Regions from separate parts of the Homo sapiens genome. Here regions 1, 2, 3 and 4 are each linked to region 5. The links are contacts of gene promoters, found by promoter capture Hi-C in blood cells and fetal thymus (Javierre and others, 2016). All regions are on one chromosome and are shown on one strand. Each heading gives the region's core, a stretch centred on a gene start or on the middle of the fragment in contact. The rest is flanking DNA. Distances are from core to core; before and after follow the strand shown.

What was found. The method cuts DNA at HindIII sites, captures the fragments that hold promoters and counts their contacts. A CHiCAGO score of 5 or more calls a contact.
Region 1: a fragment that was not itself captured here is called in contact with the fragment with the promoter of TIAM1-AS1 in region 5 in 5 of 17 cell types (activated CD4 T cells, naive CD4 T cells, non-activated CD4 T cells and 2 more); the score reaches 15.4 in activated CD4 T cells.
Region 2: a fragment that was not itself captured here is called in contact with the fragment with the promoter of TIAM1-AS1 in region 5 in 3 of 17 cell types (fetal thymus, naive CD4 T cells and activated CD4 T cells); the score reaches 11.6 in fetal thymus.
Region 3: a fragment that was not itself captured here is called in contact with the fragment with the promoter of TIAM1-AS1 in region 5 in 9 of 17 cell types (activated CD4 T cells, fetal thymus, naive CD4 T cells and 6 more); the score reaches 12.6 in activated CD4 T cells.
Region 4: a contact is called between a fragment that was not itself captured here and the fragment with the promoter of TIAM1-AS1 in region 5, in 2 of 17 cell types (activated CD4 T cells and fetal thymus). The highest score is 7.7, in activated CD4 T cells.

The regions. Positions count from the first base shown.
Region 1 is chr21:31,305,613-31,308,312 of GRCh38, reverse strand. The region is part of intron 2 of TIAM1 (TIAM Rac1 associated GEF 1); the gene reads left to right. Among named protein-coding and RNA genes, the nearest start is that of TIAM1, 37 kb to the left of the region's middle. The HindIII fragment of the contact is 5,166 bases long and covers 1-2,700 here.
Region 2 is chr21:31,396,728-31,399,427 of GRCh38, reverse strand. It overlaps a transcript of TIAM1 not described here. Among named protein-coding and RNA genes, the nearest start is that of TIAM1, 54 kb to the right of the region's middle. The HindIII fragment of the contact is 220 bases long and covers 1,249-1,468 here.
Region 3 is chr21:31,380,034-31,382,733 of GRCh38, reverse strand. It overlaps a transcript of TIAM1 not described here. Among named protein-coding and RNA genes, the nearest start is that of TIAM1, 37 kb to the right of the region's middle. The HindIII fragment of the contact is 3,733 bases long and covers 1-2,700 here.
Region 4 is chr21:31,417,364-31,420,153 of GRCh38, reverse strand. It overlaps a transcript of TIAM1 not described here. Among named protein-coding and RNA genes, the nearest start is that of TIAM1, 74 kb to the right of the region's middle. The HindIII fragment of the contact is 5,634 bases long and covers 1-2,790 here.
Region 5 is chr21:31,557,813-31,560,512 of GRCh38, reverse strand. TIAM1-AS1 (TIAM1 antisense RNA 1) reads right to left here and starts at 1,280. Exons shown (of 2, transcript NR_171013.1): 1 at 918-1,280; 2 at 26-496. It also overlaps a transcript of TIAM1 not described here. RefSeq lists a silencer at 932-1,561 and enhancers at 841-1,653, 2,467-2,700. The HindIII fragment of the contact is 6,855 bases long and covers 1-2,700 here.

The sequences.
Region 1 (2,700 bases), core at 122-2,621, 250 kb after region 5:
GTTACCTACCTTGCCTAAGGTCATGCAGACGAACCATTGTGCAGCTTTTAGTTTTTTGTTTTGAGATGACATTTCACTCCATCTCCCAGGCTGGAGTGCAGTGGCGCGATCTTAGCTCACTGCAACTTCCACCTCCTAGGCTCAATCAGTCCTCCTACTTTAGCCTCCCGAATAGCTGGGTCTACAGGTGCACACCACCACGCCCAACTAATTTTTGTAGTTTTTGTAGAGATGAGGTTTTGCCATGTTACCCAGGCTGGTCTTGAACCCTGACAGGGATTCCGATTTCGTTTCTCAAGTGATCTGCCTGCCTTGGCCTCCCAAAATGCTAGGATTACAGGTGTGAGCTGCCGCACCCAGCCCATTGTATAGTATTGACTCTGATTGAATTAACTTGGCTCTCTTCTCCCCATCCTTTTATTTCACTTAGGGAAACCTCTATTTTTTATCTTGTAAATTCAACTGAGATTCTCCATCTTCCTGTAACCTTCCCTCCTCTCCAGTGTCTTCTTCCTGAACAGGATGGAGCCTGTACCGTCTAATGAGATAATGGCCCCTCTCCCCTTACCCCTCACTTGTCCAGAGGCATCTGTTTGCAAGCCCCTCCTTGCTAGACTTGAGCTCCTTGAAGACAGAACCAGGACCTGGCAAAAGGGGAGACCTTTATTAAATGCTGGTGGGGTTGATCAGAATTAGATGATCGCACCCACCTCCCCAATTTCCAGATAGCAAAACCAAGGCCCAGTGTGATACTGCCACAGAGTTCTCCGGGGTAGATCCGGGACTAGAACCCATGTGTTTGTTCAGTCTGTGACAGCATGGCCTTTGAAAGCAGAAGACCTGACAAGGATTCCTATTTGGTTCCTTAGTTCTGGCCGTGTTCTGGATGGTGTCCTGGGACTCTTGGATGCAGGAGGTGTTTCTTAGCCCTCCGTGTACTCAGAGGGTTGGTAATGGTCATAAGAGTGGCTTGGCATGAAAAGACAGAGCAAAGCCCTGAATTTGCACAACCTGCTGGCTGAGGGTGTGGATACTCTGGTGAGGACAAGAAGAGCACATTAACCCATGTGGCTAAAGGGCCTTTTGTTTTTTCTAATACAAAATTAGCAAATTTTATACATTGTCATTAATTCTCACATTAGTAGAATAAGTGATGTGGTAATTTGTGCCTCATTCCATTATATCAGTTATCCATATCTGTTTTCACCTGTATACATAACTAAGAATAAATCAGCCGTCGGGTTTGAGATTTTGTTTTTGTTTTGAAATTGACACAAACTTCTAGAAAAGTTGGCGATGCAATGCAGTATGAAGAATTTTATTTTCTCTAAATCATTCGAGAGTACCAAATGTCTTTGGCTCTTACCAAAGACATTAGTGTTTTTCAAGGCAACTGTTCTATACAGCCACCATACAGGGGTCAGAGTCACAGCATGAGCTGACCCATTCCTGCCAGTCAATCGGGGCGCTGGAAAACGGCGAAGGTTTCCAGTGGAGGATCATGCCTTGCCCGTGATTGTCTCGTGTCTTTAGACTCCTTCAGTCAGGAACAGTTGCACAGTCTTTCCTGGACTTACAACGTTGATACTTTGGAAGAGTCCAGGCAAGTTGTTGTGTAGAATGCCCCTCAGTTTGGTTTGCCCAGATGTTTTCTCACGATTCACTCCACATTGGATCGTTGCATCACTGGCAGACACATCACAGGCCACGATGTAGGGTGTCCTCCTCCTGTGTGTTCTCTGAGTGCTCCCGAAGTTGGCCTGTCCTACTTCTGATGCTGTCTACTCACCTTGGCCACTTGGTTAAGACAGCATTGCCAGCCTTCCCAGTTGTGAAGTTATTATTTTCCTCTTTGTGAAGGAAAGAAATGTTAGTAAATGTTTTGTGGGGGGATACTTTGAAATTATATAAGTCTCTTCTTTCTCATCAGATTTCCAATTTTATTTCTCTCTATATGGACTTGTAGTTTCCTATTTTATTCAGTGGGTTATAATCTGCTAGTAGTATTATTTATTGATTTTTTTTTTTAGAGACAGGGTCTTGCTCTTTCATCCAAGCCAGAGTGCAGTGGTGCAATCAGAACTCACCACAGCCTCAAACTCCTGGGCTCGAGCAATCCTCCTCCTTCAGCCTCTTAAATAGCTGGGACTACAGGTGCATGTCACCATGCCTGGCTTATTTTTAAATTTTTTGTAGAGATGAGGTCTTGGTGGGTTGCCAGGCCATTCTGTTATTTATTTTGGTACTCAAATTGTCCCTGATTTGGCCTGCAGGCACCCCTTCAAGTGTGCTCCTCTGTCTCGTTGTGTGCCACCATCCTGTGCTCTGCCTGGATTGTGAGGACACTGGCGGTTCCTCCCCTGGGGGACTTGCCCTTTGGGGCTTCTGACACCACCATGGCAGTCACCCCCGTGAGCAGACACCTTCTGGCTCCAGTCACCACGTTTTTAAAAAAAGTATATCTTGTAGTTAGATTGGGTTAAATAAGCCATAGACATTTTTTTTTCCTGGAGGTTTTAGGGAGAATTGTTTTTGTGCCTAAATTGAAAAAATGAGGCCTGTTTAGAATTCATAAACTGGCACAGAAGGGTAGCTCTGCGCCTCCAGGCAAATTCTCATACAAATTATTAAAAGACTCAGGAGGGGTTCAGTCATGTTAAAACCCCAGTTTGAAAATGTCGTAATCACTTTTCTCTCAGC
Region 2 (2,700 bases), core at 109-2,608, 160 kb after region 5:
ATTGTATATAATTATTTAATTTAGTTGACCTAAACGTTAATTTATTATTTTTAAAACTTTAATAGATTGTAATATATCTTAAATCAAAATCGGTTTGAAATGGCACGAAGTATTTAAGGATATTCTCATATAAATTTTAAAGAGAGAACTTATCCAAGCCAATATTAAAAAAAAATAATTTCCTTGCTTTATAGACAAATTTTAGTATATCTCAGGGGGCATTGATGTTATATCTAAAATGTCAAAGTAAGATTTATAATAATAGAAATTTATTACTCTTTATTATACATAGTATAAATGAGTAAAGCAACCAATTCCGCCTTGTGGAATTAATTTTGGCTTTGCTGTTTCTTTTTAGTTTCTGGCAAAGGCTATTTTTATTTTATTTTATTTATCTATTTATTTTATGTTTTTAGTGGAGATGGGGTTTCTCCATGTTGGCTAAGCTGGTCTCGAACTCCTGGCCTCAGGTGAGCTGCCAGCCTCAGCCTCCCAAAGTGCTGGGATTATAGGCGTGAGCCACCGGGCCCATCCCAAAGGCTATTTTTAATAGTTTGAGAAGAGTCAGAGCCTGGGTGATAAGAGATGCTGACGTTTACATTTCTCTTTCTTCTTCAGTTTCACAAGATAAGTGATCAACTCTGTATTCTCATATCACACTAAATCGTTCTCCATATCTGCCCAGGCACAGACGGAAGCCTGCTTAGATATTTATCAAAGTGGCTAATGCCCTTGTTATTGTAATTGGTCATAATTTTTCTCCTTTACTGAGGGAGCACAAAGAATTTTCCTGTCTGGGAACTGTGTACTGTGCTATGAGGATGGCAAACTTCTGCCTACAGTTGGAATTTTGCAGTGATAGCACATCCACCATTTCTTTATGTGCTTGGTCAGGTGTTTAGATATTTGAAGTGTGATGGAGAATACAAAAGATGTGGGCTACTTCCCATGGCTATGTTATTTCTCATTTTTAGTGGAGTAAAATTATGTGGTGGTTTATTTAAGAAAAAATTTTTGACATTTTCTTCAGTAACACAAACCATTACCACTGTGTGGGAAAACTGACCAGGTCTCCCCCAGGCCCAGCTTATCCACAGTTCTTCATTCAGAAGGATGGCATAAAAAGTAAGATTGTTTTACAATTTTACACGCCTTTCTGAAAACAGGTGCTTCCTTTGTGAATTCAAGTTAGTGAATTGATGTGGTCATTTCAACCTAGTTTCAACTCTGGTTCTAAAGAACAAAGCTTTTTTTTTTTTTTTTTTTTTTGCCCTGAAGATTGACATTTGCTTGCAGAGATTAGGCACTTCCTGTGCCCCTGGGTCCCATTCTGCTGGTGCAGAGGGGAGGTTGGGGGAGGTTGTAGGGGGGAGGTCAAAGGGAAGCCAACACATTGGTCCATGTACATCCCATGGCAGTGGGAGGTACTTGGAGTCTGTGCAGATCTGCACAGGGGCAGGCTGAAGCTTGCTTAGAAGTTTATCAGGTATTCCATGGTTCATCCATTCTACAAGGTAGCAGGGAAGAATTCTGAAGTTCCTTTGTTATCTGTAAATGGTTAGTGTGAGACCTGTTGCCTCTGTCCCTTCTCATTTCCCTGTTTTCCATGTCTTTCGTTTTGCCCTGGCAGAAAGCAGCCCAGCATCTTCACATTCTGACTTCTGGAATGGAATGAAAGCGTTTCTTTCTGTATAGAGAGGTTTGTTTTACACAGAGCTGCCTTTGACTGGGAAGACTCCCCCTAACAGATTTGGATCATAACGTGTTGGCACCAAGCCAGGAAGGATGGCCATAAATTGTAATTTGAATGAGGTTTCACCAGCTCTTTGTCCTGTTATCTCATTTCTGGCGCGGGGATATTGGGCAACTTAAACCAGGAGCTGATTTGGTCAATGTGATTTTCATGATTTAAATTAGAAATGTTCATTTTGGGTGGCAGGTATCAAGATTTTTGTATATTGGTTTCTACTTCTGAATTTTTTTCAAAGGAATTAAAATGGGAGGAAAAGAGGAGAGAAAGGAAAAGAGGAAGGAAGCGGTTTGAAACATGGACCCTTAGAGCTTTTGGATGCAAAAAGATCTGTATAGGAATTTGGCACTTGCTGTATATGTGACTTTGAACAACTTCTCTGCCTCAGTTTTTTGCTGTTTATAAAATGACACTTACAAACGGGCATGATAGTTCTTTGTTAAGAGATCATATCTCTTCAGAGCCAAACATAGTGCTTAGAATATAAAAGATACCTAAAAAATCCTAATTCCCTTTCATTACCTCTTTGATGTTACATCTAAAGATCTGCTGCTAAGTTGAACACAGACTTTATCACTTCCAGGCTGGTCTGAATATAGGTCTTGCTAGAATGTTGTTCGCTTAAATACAATCATATCACAGCGATCGAAGGATCCCTTTGCTTTGGTTTCTTTCCACTATTAGAAAAGTGGAAGGGCATAAAATATTATTTAAATTTTTTTTGTGTGTGTGACGGAGTCTCACTCTGTCGCCCAGGCTGGAGTGCAGTGGCGCGATCTCGGTTCACTGCAACCTCCACCCCAGGTTCAAGTGATTCTCCTGTCTCAGCCTCCTGAGTAGCTCGGATTACAGGCATCTGCTACCAGGCCCGGCTAATTTTTGTATTTTTAGTAAAGGTGGGGTTTCACCATGTGAAGCCAGGCTGGTCTTGAGCTCCTGACCTCAAGTGA
Region 3 (2,700 bases), core at 55-2,554, 180 kb after region 5:
CTTGACTTTTGTGATCTCATTTAAAATATCACCAATTGACTGACATGTTAAAAAAATCTGTTTTATAAACTGTCAAAAGAAAAAGCATAGGTACTTCAATCCTCTCATTCAGTGTGCTACATCCGTCTCATTAATTGCCTTTTCAGAGAGCAGTGTCATTGGAGGTAGTCAGTCTTTCGGAAAAAAACAGATCAAAGAGTTGTCAGGAGGTTGTTTGGCTCTGAGATAATTCATTTCTTGCTTTCTTTCATGAGATACATAGGAGTGTGGTAGCTAATGATCAGAAATGTGGAAATTGGAAATTGAAATGTATCTATTTGATCCTTGTACCTTGGTCAAAATACACAATTAATCTGTCTGCTTTTTATTTTCTTCTGCCCTTATGTTCTAGACACGGCGTAAATCTCAAGTCATGCCTTTTGTCACCTATGATTTTAGCCAATGGTTTCTAGTTACCTTGTGGTTTTTCATACGGATATACAGTGCGCTGATAAGCGTTCAAACATCTAGCCCCAGAGGTCTCTGGTGTTTGGATAAGAGTTAGCAAAAGCATATTGCATGGGAGATGTGCTTATCATTTTGTTCCTTTCCTTCCCTCTTTTCATTCTCTAATTCAAGAATTTCTGCTTGACCCAGTTTAAATGTCTTCTGCACAAGTCTCTCCTCATAATGCTTTATTGGTCTTTGTCTTAGGCAGTTTGAACTGCTATAGTGAAATACCACAAACTGGGCAGCTTAATCAACAAACATTTATTTCTCACAGTTCTGAAGGTGAGGAAGTCCAAGACCAAGGTCCCTGATGATTGGGTTCCTGGTTTGAAGACAGCCTCTCTCTATATATATCCTGACATGGCAGAGAGAGAGGATGTCTCTAGTGTCTGTTCTTTTTGTTTTTTATTTTTGAGACAGGGTCTTACTCTGTCACCCAGACTGGAGTGCAATGGTGTGATCATGGCTCACTGCAGCCTCGACCTCCCAGCCTCAGGTGATGCTCCCACCACAGCCTCCCAAATAGCTGGGACTACAGGTGTACACCACCATGTCTGGCTATTTTTTTGTTTTCTTTGAGACAGAGTCTCACTCTGTTGCCCAGGCTGGAGTGCAGTGGCGTGATCTCAGCTCACTGCAACCTCCGCCTCCCATGTTCAAGTGATTCCTGTTCCTCAGCCTCTCGAGTAGCTGGGAGTACAGGCGTGTACCATCATGCCCAGCTAATTTTTGTATTTTTAGTAGAGACAGGGATTCACCATGTTGGCCAGGCTGGTCCCGAACTCCTGGCCTCAAGTGATCCACCTGCCACGGCCTCCCAAAGTGCCAGGATTACAGGTGTGAGCCACTGTGCCCGGCTGCCTGGCTAATTTTGTCTATTTTTTGTAGAGGTGGGGTTTCAGCATGTTGTCTAGGCTGGTAGTGTCTCTTCTTATAAGAGCACTAATACCATTCATGAGGGCTCCACTCATGTCTAATCACCCCGCAAAGGCCCCACCTCCAAATACCATCACCTTAGGGATTAGAATTTCAACATACGGATTTTGCGGGGACACAGATGTTCAGTCCATAGCATTCTTATTATTGCAGCACTAAACAGTCAGCTTGGTGTCATAATCTAATAGAAGAAAGGGACTGTATTATCTGTGTCTTCTAGCAAGGTTTAGTATATTGCACACAAGTACTTGGTTTTGTTGTTGTTATTTATTTACTTATAAAGTTACTGTTTGAGTGCTGCACTGTGTCAGGTACTCACTCATCGGTGAAAGAAGCACTATTATTTTCCTCATTTTACCTATAGAGAAGCTGGGGCTTGGGGGAGGATCCCAGGTCATTCAACATGTGAGTGAAGGGGTTGGGACTTAAACCTAGTTTTATTCTAAAGCCCCTGTCCCTAACCGATCCGGTACAATGCAAATTATATGGAATTAACTATATAAACTGCTTTATGAACATTGTGGATATGTTAAATTTAGGATTTTGACCCACATTTTAATGAACTAAAAAAAGTAGGGTATTGAGTCTATTCCTTTTCTTTATACTGTGGTAATAGATTAATTATCCTCTGATGGATTTTTTAAAAAACAGCTTTATTGAACTATAATTCATACCCCTTTCGAATCATCCATTTAAAATGTACACTTCCATAATTTTTTTATTTTTATATTTACTTTACTTTATATTATATTACTTTATTTTTTTGAGATGGAATTTCGCTCTTGTTGCCCAGGCTGGAGTGCAATGGTGTGATCTCAGCTCACTGCATCCTCCGCCTCCTGGATTCAAGTGATTCTCCTGCCTCAGCCTCCCAAGTAACTGAGATTACCGGCATGTGCCACCACACCCAGCTAACTTTGTATTTTTAGTAGAGACAGGGTTTCACCATGTTGGACAGGCTGGTCTCGAACTCCTGACCTCAAGTGATCCACCCACCTCGGCCTCCCAAAGTGCTGGGATTACAGCGTGAGCCACTTAACATTTATTGTTTGAGACAAAGTCTCACTATTTCGCTCAGGCTAGAGTGCGGTGGCGTGCTCCAACTGCAACCTCCACCTCTCAGGTTCAAGCGATTCTCATGCCCAGCCTCCCGAGTAGCTGAGATTACAGGTGTGCACCACCATGCCTGGCCAATTTTTTGTATTTTTAGTAGAGACAGGGTTTCACCATGTTGGTCATGCTGATCTTGAACTCCTGAGTCAAATGATCCGCCTG
Region 4 (2,790 bases), core at 56-2,555, 140 kb after region 5:
GTTCTCCTGACAGATATTTTTCCTAAAGTCGCTTTTTCAAAAATTGCAGAGAAGTTTCTTATAAGGATGTTATATAGTTTATTTATTTTTTATTTTTAGTTTTTGAGACGGAGTTTTGCTTTTGTTGCCCAGGCTGGAGTGCAATAGCACGATCTTGGCTCGCTGCAGCCTCCACCTCTCGGGTTCAAGCGATTCTCCTGCCTCAGCCTCCCAAGTAGCTGGGACCACAGACGCGCCACCACGCTTGGATAATTTTTGTATTTTTAGTAGAGACGGGGTTTCACCATGTTGGCTAGGCTGGTCTTGAACTCCTGACCTCAGGTGATCCACCCGCCTTGACCTCCCAAAGTGCTGGGATTACAGGTGTAAGCCACCACGCTCAGTCTAGGATGTTATGTAGTTTATTTAATTGCTTCTTTTTGCTCATCATTTTGTTTTCCACTTTTGTTTTTCTACTTGTGGGGTGTATTAACTTCTTTGTGTGTAAATCTTTGTATCTTTTATTCCATCCTTAGATTAAAAATTTTAAACACAGATTTACTGGAAAAAGAGTTTAAACTGTTAAACGCATCTAATGCATATTATTGCTGAATTAGTGTCCAGAAAGAGGGTTTTAAATGCTGTCATCAGCGTCTGGACATACTAGTATTAACAGCTCACTTGTAAGTGTTGCTGAAGATTTTGTATCTCCGAAGGATCAAGATCTTGGGGAGGATGGCATTTAACTGAAGGTGAGTCTTCTGTTCCTTGAATAGATGTTTTAGATGACACATCGCTCTACAAGGTGCGTCACTGTCCTGTTTTTATCACTCTATTGTTTAATGATGATGCATCTATTGCTTATGGTACCAGTGAATGTTTCCATTATTTTACTTTACTTAACATGAATTTCTCACGCATTCATGTGCAGCTGAAGAGAATTAGCAATAATGATCCCAATAATAACTCCCCTTTGCTGAGTACCATCCTTGTGCTGAGTGCTCTTCATACGTGAATCTCACTGAATACCGATTTTTGGAGGAGAAGCGAGGAGGTTGGAGGAGTTTAGTTACCAGGGTCTCAGGCTGAGTTGATTCCAGAGCTGAAGCTCCTTCAGGAGGGTCACTGGCCAGCCCTGGTGTGCCCGGCAGATCTCGTGGAGACCATGGGAGGTGCAGAGAAGAGTAATTTGCACACATCTTCAACCTAGGATTACTGGGCTAGACCGCTCGGTGGGGGCTGGGCTTCAAAGCCACCTGAGTGTGTGACCTTGACTCCTTTTTCTTTCCTTCAACTGCAGTAAAAGAAACGGTAGTTCTAAGAGGCCTCGCCACCCTGCTTGCAGCAAAAGGCCTCTCTCTGAAGCTGATTCTGTGCAAAGTCCAGTGTCGCTGGTATTTTCAGGGCGACTTTCTTCTCTGGCGGTGTGTTTTCCTCTGTTTCCAGGGGAGCTCCCAAGAGAAGGTTGTCTCTCAGTCTCCTTTTCATTTGAGGTGACCCCTCTAACTCCTGTGTTTAAAGCTGGGCTGCACTTACTGCTAACCTTTCTAATAGCTTCTGTGGAGTTGGCCTGAAAAACTACAGAGAGCTCTCCTTTCATCCCTCGCCAGGATGCTGCAGGTCTTTGTATCTGCAGCCACCGGGGTAGGGGAGAGTGGACACCCTTGGCCATTTTCTTAAATCCAAGTTGGTAGCTGGTGTTTTCAGTCCCTGCCTGAAAACAGCAGCTGTTTAATTTGCATTTGGATGCTGCTTTTTCTCTTGCCTTCCCACCACCCTGTGTCTAAACAGTAGCCAGAGGGCAACTTTTTTTTTTTTTTTTTTTTTTTTTTTGAGACAGAGTCTCGCTCTGTCGCCCAGGCTGGAGTGCAGTGGCGTGATCTCGGCTCACCTCAACTTCCGCCTGCCGGGTTCAAGTGATTCTCCTGTCTCAGCCTCCCGAGTAGCTGGGATTACAGGCGTGTGCCACCACGCCCTGCTAATTTTTGTACTTTCAGTAGAGATGGGGTTTCGCCATGTTGGCCAGGCTGGTCTCAAACTCCTGACCTCAAGTGATCTGCCAAAGTGCTGGGATTACAGGTATGAGCCACCGCACCTGGCCTAGAGGGCACCTTTTTAAAAGTCAGATAGTGTCACTCTGCTCAGTACCTTTTGGGCCTTTCCAATTGCCCCGAAATAAAAACTGAAGGGCTCACAGTGGTTCCTGGCTGACTTGAGCTGCCCCTTCCCATCTTCAATTTCTCTCTCTCTCCACTCAGCTGTTGCTCATTCATATGGCAAGTGCCAGCCTCAAGCCTCTTGTCCTGTGTCTCTCTACCTGGAGCACTCTTCCCCAGGTAGTTACATAATGTACCCCCTTCAGGTGTGGGTTCTGTCATGTTTCTTTTTCAGCGAGACTGTCCCTGGTCATCCTGTTGAAAACCTCCATGTCCCTGACTGCACAGGTAGAGTGTGGCAGGAATTGACCTGCAGGTGTACATCTGTTCTCTTCTGTCCCTGATGGCAAGTGCTTGCTTTTTGCTTGTTAGGACACTGATATAGTTTGGCTGTGTCCCCACCCAAATCTCATCTTGAATTGTAGCTCCCATAATTCTCACGTATTGTGGGAGGGACCCAGTGGGAGATAATTGAATCATGGGGGTGGTTTCCCCCGTACTGTTCTCATGGTAGTAAGTCTCATGAGATCTGATGTTTTTATAAGGGATTTCCCCTTTTGCTTGATTCTCATTTTTTCCTTTTGCCTGCCACCATGTAAGGCGTGCCTTTTGCCTTCTGCTGTGACTGTGAGGCCTCCCCAGCCATGTGGAACTA
Region 5 (2,700 bases), core at 31-2,530:
CTGGGGAAAGAAAAGAGACCCAGAGTTGGGAGCGCAAAATGAGATTTTTCTGCTTAGAAGGATCATTCTGCAAAGTGGAGAACAGATTTCAGGGGGCAAGGCCTGGGACAGAAGGACGATGGGAGCCCTTTACTGAGGTCCAGGTGAGACAGGATGGGAGGAATGGGTTTGGGAGGTTAACAAAAATGGATGGGAGAGGGTTAAGAAGAAGGAGGAATCAGGGATGACTTTCAATTTTCCGGTTTAGGTTTATCTTCCACAGCGTGGGCAATTCTTTTTGTTTTCAACAAGATCACCCCGGGAGCGCAGACCTTCCCAGCTCCCGGGGCGAACACGTGTGTATGGAATCAAGGTGTAAGGAACATACATCCCAGCCTTTGTTGTAAATGGGGAAGTCTAGAGCTCTTCAGGAGAGGAGGAAGCTCCGGCCTCGTGTAGGGAAAGGTTTCGCTCGAGGCTGTACCGCCAGCGTCTCCGTTTCCGCGTTCTCCACAACCTTGCGAGAGGTAAACTGCAACTGTAGTTTCCGGATTTTACAGAGGAGCCCAGGAGGTCTGCGTGAACCCTGCCCGAGTCACTTACTCTGCCCAGCAGGTAAGCGTAAGGCCCAAACCCCACGCTGTTATTCCAAGTTCGCTTGCTGGGCACGGTAAGTGAACCCTGGGAGTCCTGGACTCTGGTGAAGGCCACCATGCCCTACCTGGAGGCTGCTCAGGGTCTAACATCCTCTAGCATCCACGGGAAGGGATTGCGTTAGGATTTTTTTCTCTCGTAAAAAAGTTCCTGTCTCCCCCTAGAGCCAGGCACACGCCTCCCGCGCCAGACCACTTGTCCCAGGCACAACATTTTTTGACTCTTCGCCTCCCCCGTTTCGATCCCCCTTCCTCTCCGCCTTAGGTGGCAGGAAAATCCTTTACCTCCGACCAATCCCACCGATGCCGAGCCGCGCGCGCGCGCCAACTAGAGCTCCGTCTGTGCACGCCATTGGCCACCTCCACCTATGCGAGATGACAGGCAGCTTCGCGGACCTATCGCCGAGGGAGGCAGAGGCCTCCGGCCCTCCCAAAGCTGCTTTGTTAGGGGCTCCCTGGTCGTCCCCCGGCCCGCCGCGCCTCCGCTGCCTGCGGGCGATCTCCCCGGGCCGCGCTGACGGAGCCTCGCAGGAAGGCATCTCTGGAGCGCGCGCCGCCCGCGCCCCTCCAGCCGCGCGCTCCGAGCCTGGCTGCGGCGCGGATACCCGGCGTGCGCCCATAGTCGCTCTACAGCCCAACTCCGAACGCCCCGCTCCTGCATCCACCGCCTCGGATTGGCTGGCCGGAGGCGGAGCGATTGTCAGGCGGCCCAATCGGAGCTCGGTTTCCCACGGGCTCCCGCGGCCCGGCCCCCGAGGCCGCAGGCGGAGGGGCCCTGACAGCTCCGATTGGCAGACCACGAGCGGGTTCGAGCGCGGCCGGCAGAGCAGCGCCGCCGCCGTCGGGCGCGCAGCTCTGCAGCTCCGCGGACGCCTTGGCGCCCGCAGCCCCAGGGGCACGGCTGCCCCGCATCGTGCCCGGCCCCGTCGCGGAGATCCCGGACGACCGTCGCGGGTGAGTACCGCGGGCCTGGGGTGCGCGGGCGTCCGGCCGGAGCCGCCCCGGGAGACGGCGGCGAGGATGCCCGGAGCCTCGGTGCCCGTGCCGGGCACGTTCTGACCCCCGTCTCCCGCACACTGGGGCTCCCGGCGGGTCCTAGCTCCCCCCGATCGGGCTTTCCACGTATTGTTTTCGTGTTCACACACTTGGGAGGTGGGGAGATGCGGGGAGGAGAGGCAGGAGGAGGCATCCCTCGCGCGAAGGAGGGAGACGAGACCGTGCAGCCCAGGTGCCTTCGCTGGATGGAAATGACAGCGTCCGGACGTCGGCATTCGGTCCTCTCGGCAGCAGGAGGTCAGCGCTGACCTGCGGCGGCCGCGGCACTTTGTATTTTATCGGCTGATTTTTGTCAACTTCGGGGAGGGCGTGCTTGTGCATCCTTGTGTCTATGTTTGCGTCTCGGTCCCTGACTTAGGCACCTCCGGGCCTGGCTTTTCGGCGACGCGTCCTGGGCGCTCACCTTGGCGATCCGTGCCGCCCTCGGGGCCGGGCTCACCGGGCGGAAAGCCCGGGGGCCGGCGCACGGAGCTGGGGACCCGCGACGAACCCCCGGAGGGGGGCATTAAAAGCGGAATCCTGCGGGTGCGCAGACAATGCCTCATCCGGGCGGTCGGGTCCCGGGGACTGTGCCCTGGGTCCCCGCGCCCTATCCCGTCCCCGCCTCGCCCTCTCACCAGCTCTGCCGCTGCGATGCTGCTGCGCCGCGCCCCTCGCCACCCGGCTGGGGACCCGCGTGGGGCCCGCTTTTGTTTACAGACCTCGCCATTGGGCGAGAGCAGCGCGCCGTGCGCCCCCCAGCCCCGGCGGCTGCCGCTTGCCCCCTCGAAACCTGGAGAAGTTGTTGCGCGCTGTCAGGTGACGCCCCCTCCCCCCGGCCGCGGGGCGGGATGCTGCAGGGGAAAGATGCCGTCTCGGCGCCTTCGCGCCCAGCCCCCGCCGCGCACGGCGCCTCTAGGTCCCCTGCACCCGGGGGCGCCCGTGTCCCAGCCTGGGGTCCAGGCTGGCGGCCCTCGGGGCGCCGACTCGGCCACACTCACCCGGTTCCAGTCGTCGCGTCTCCTGGTCTTGC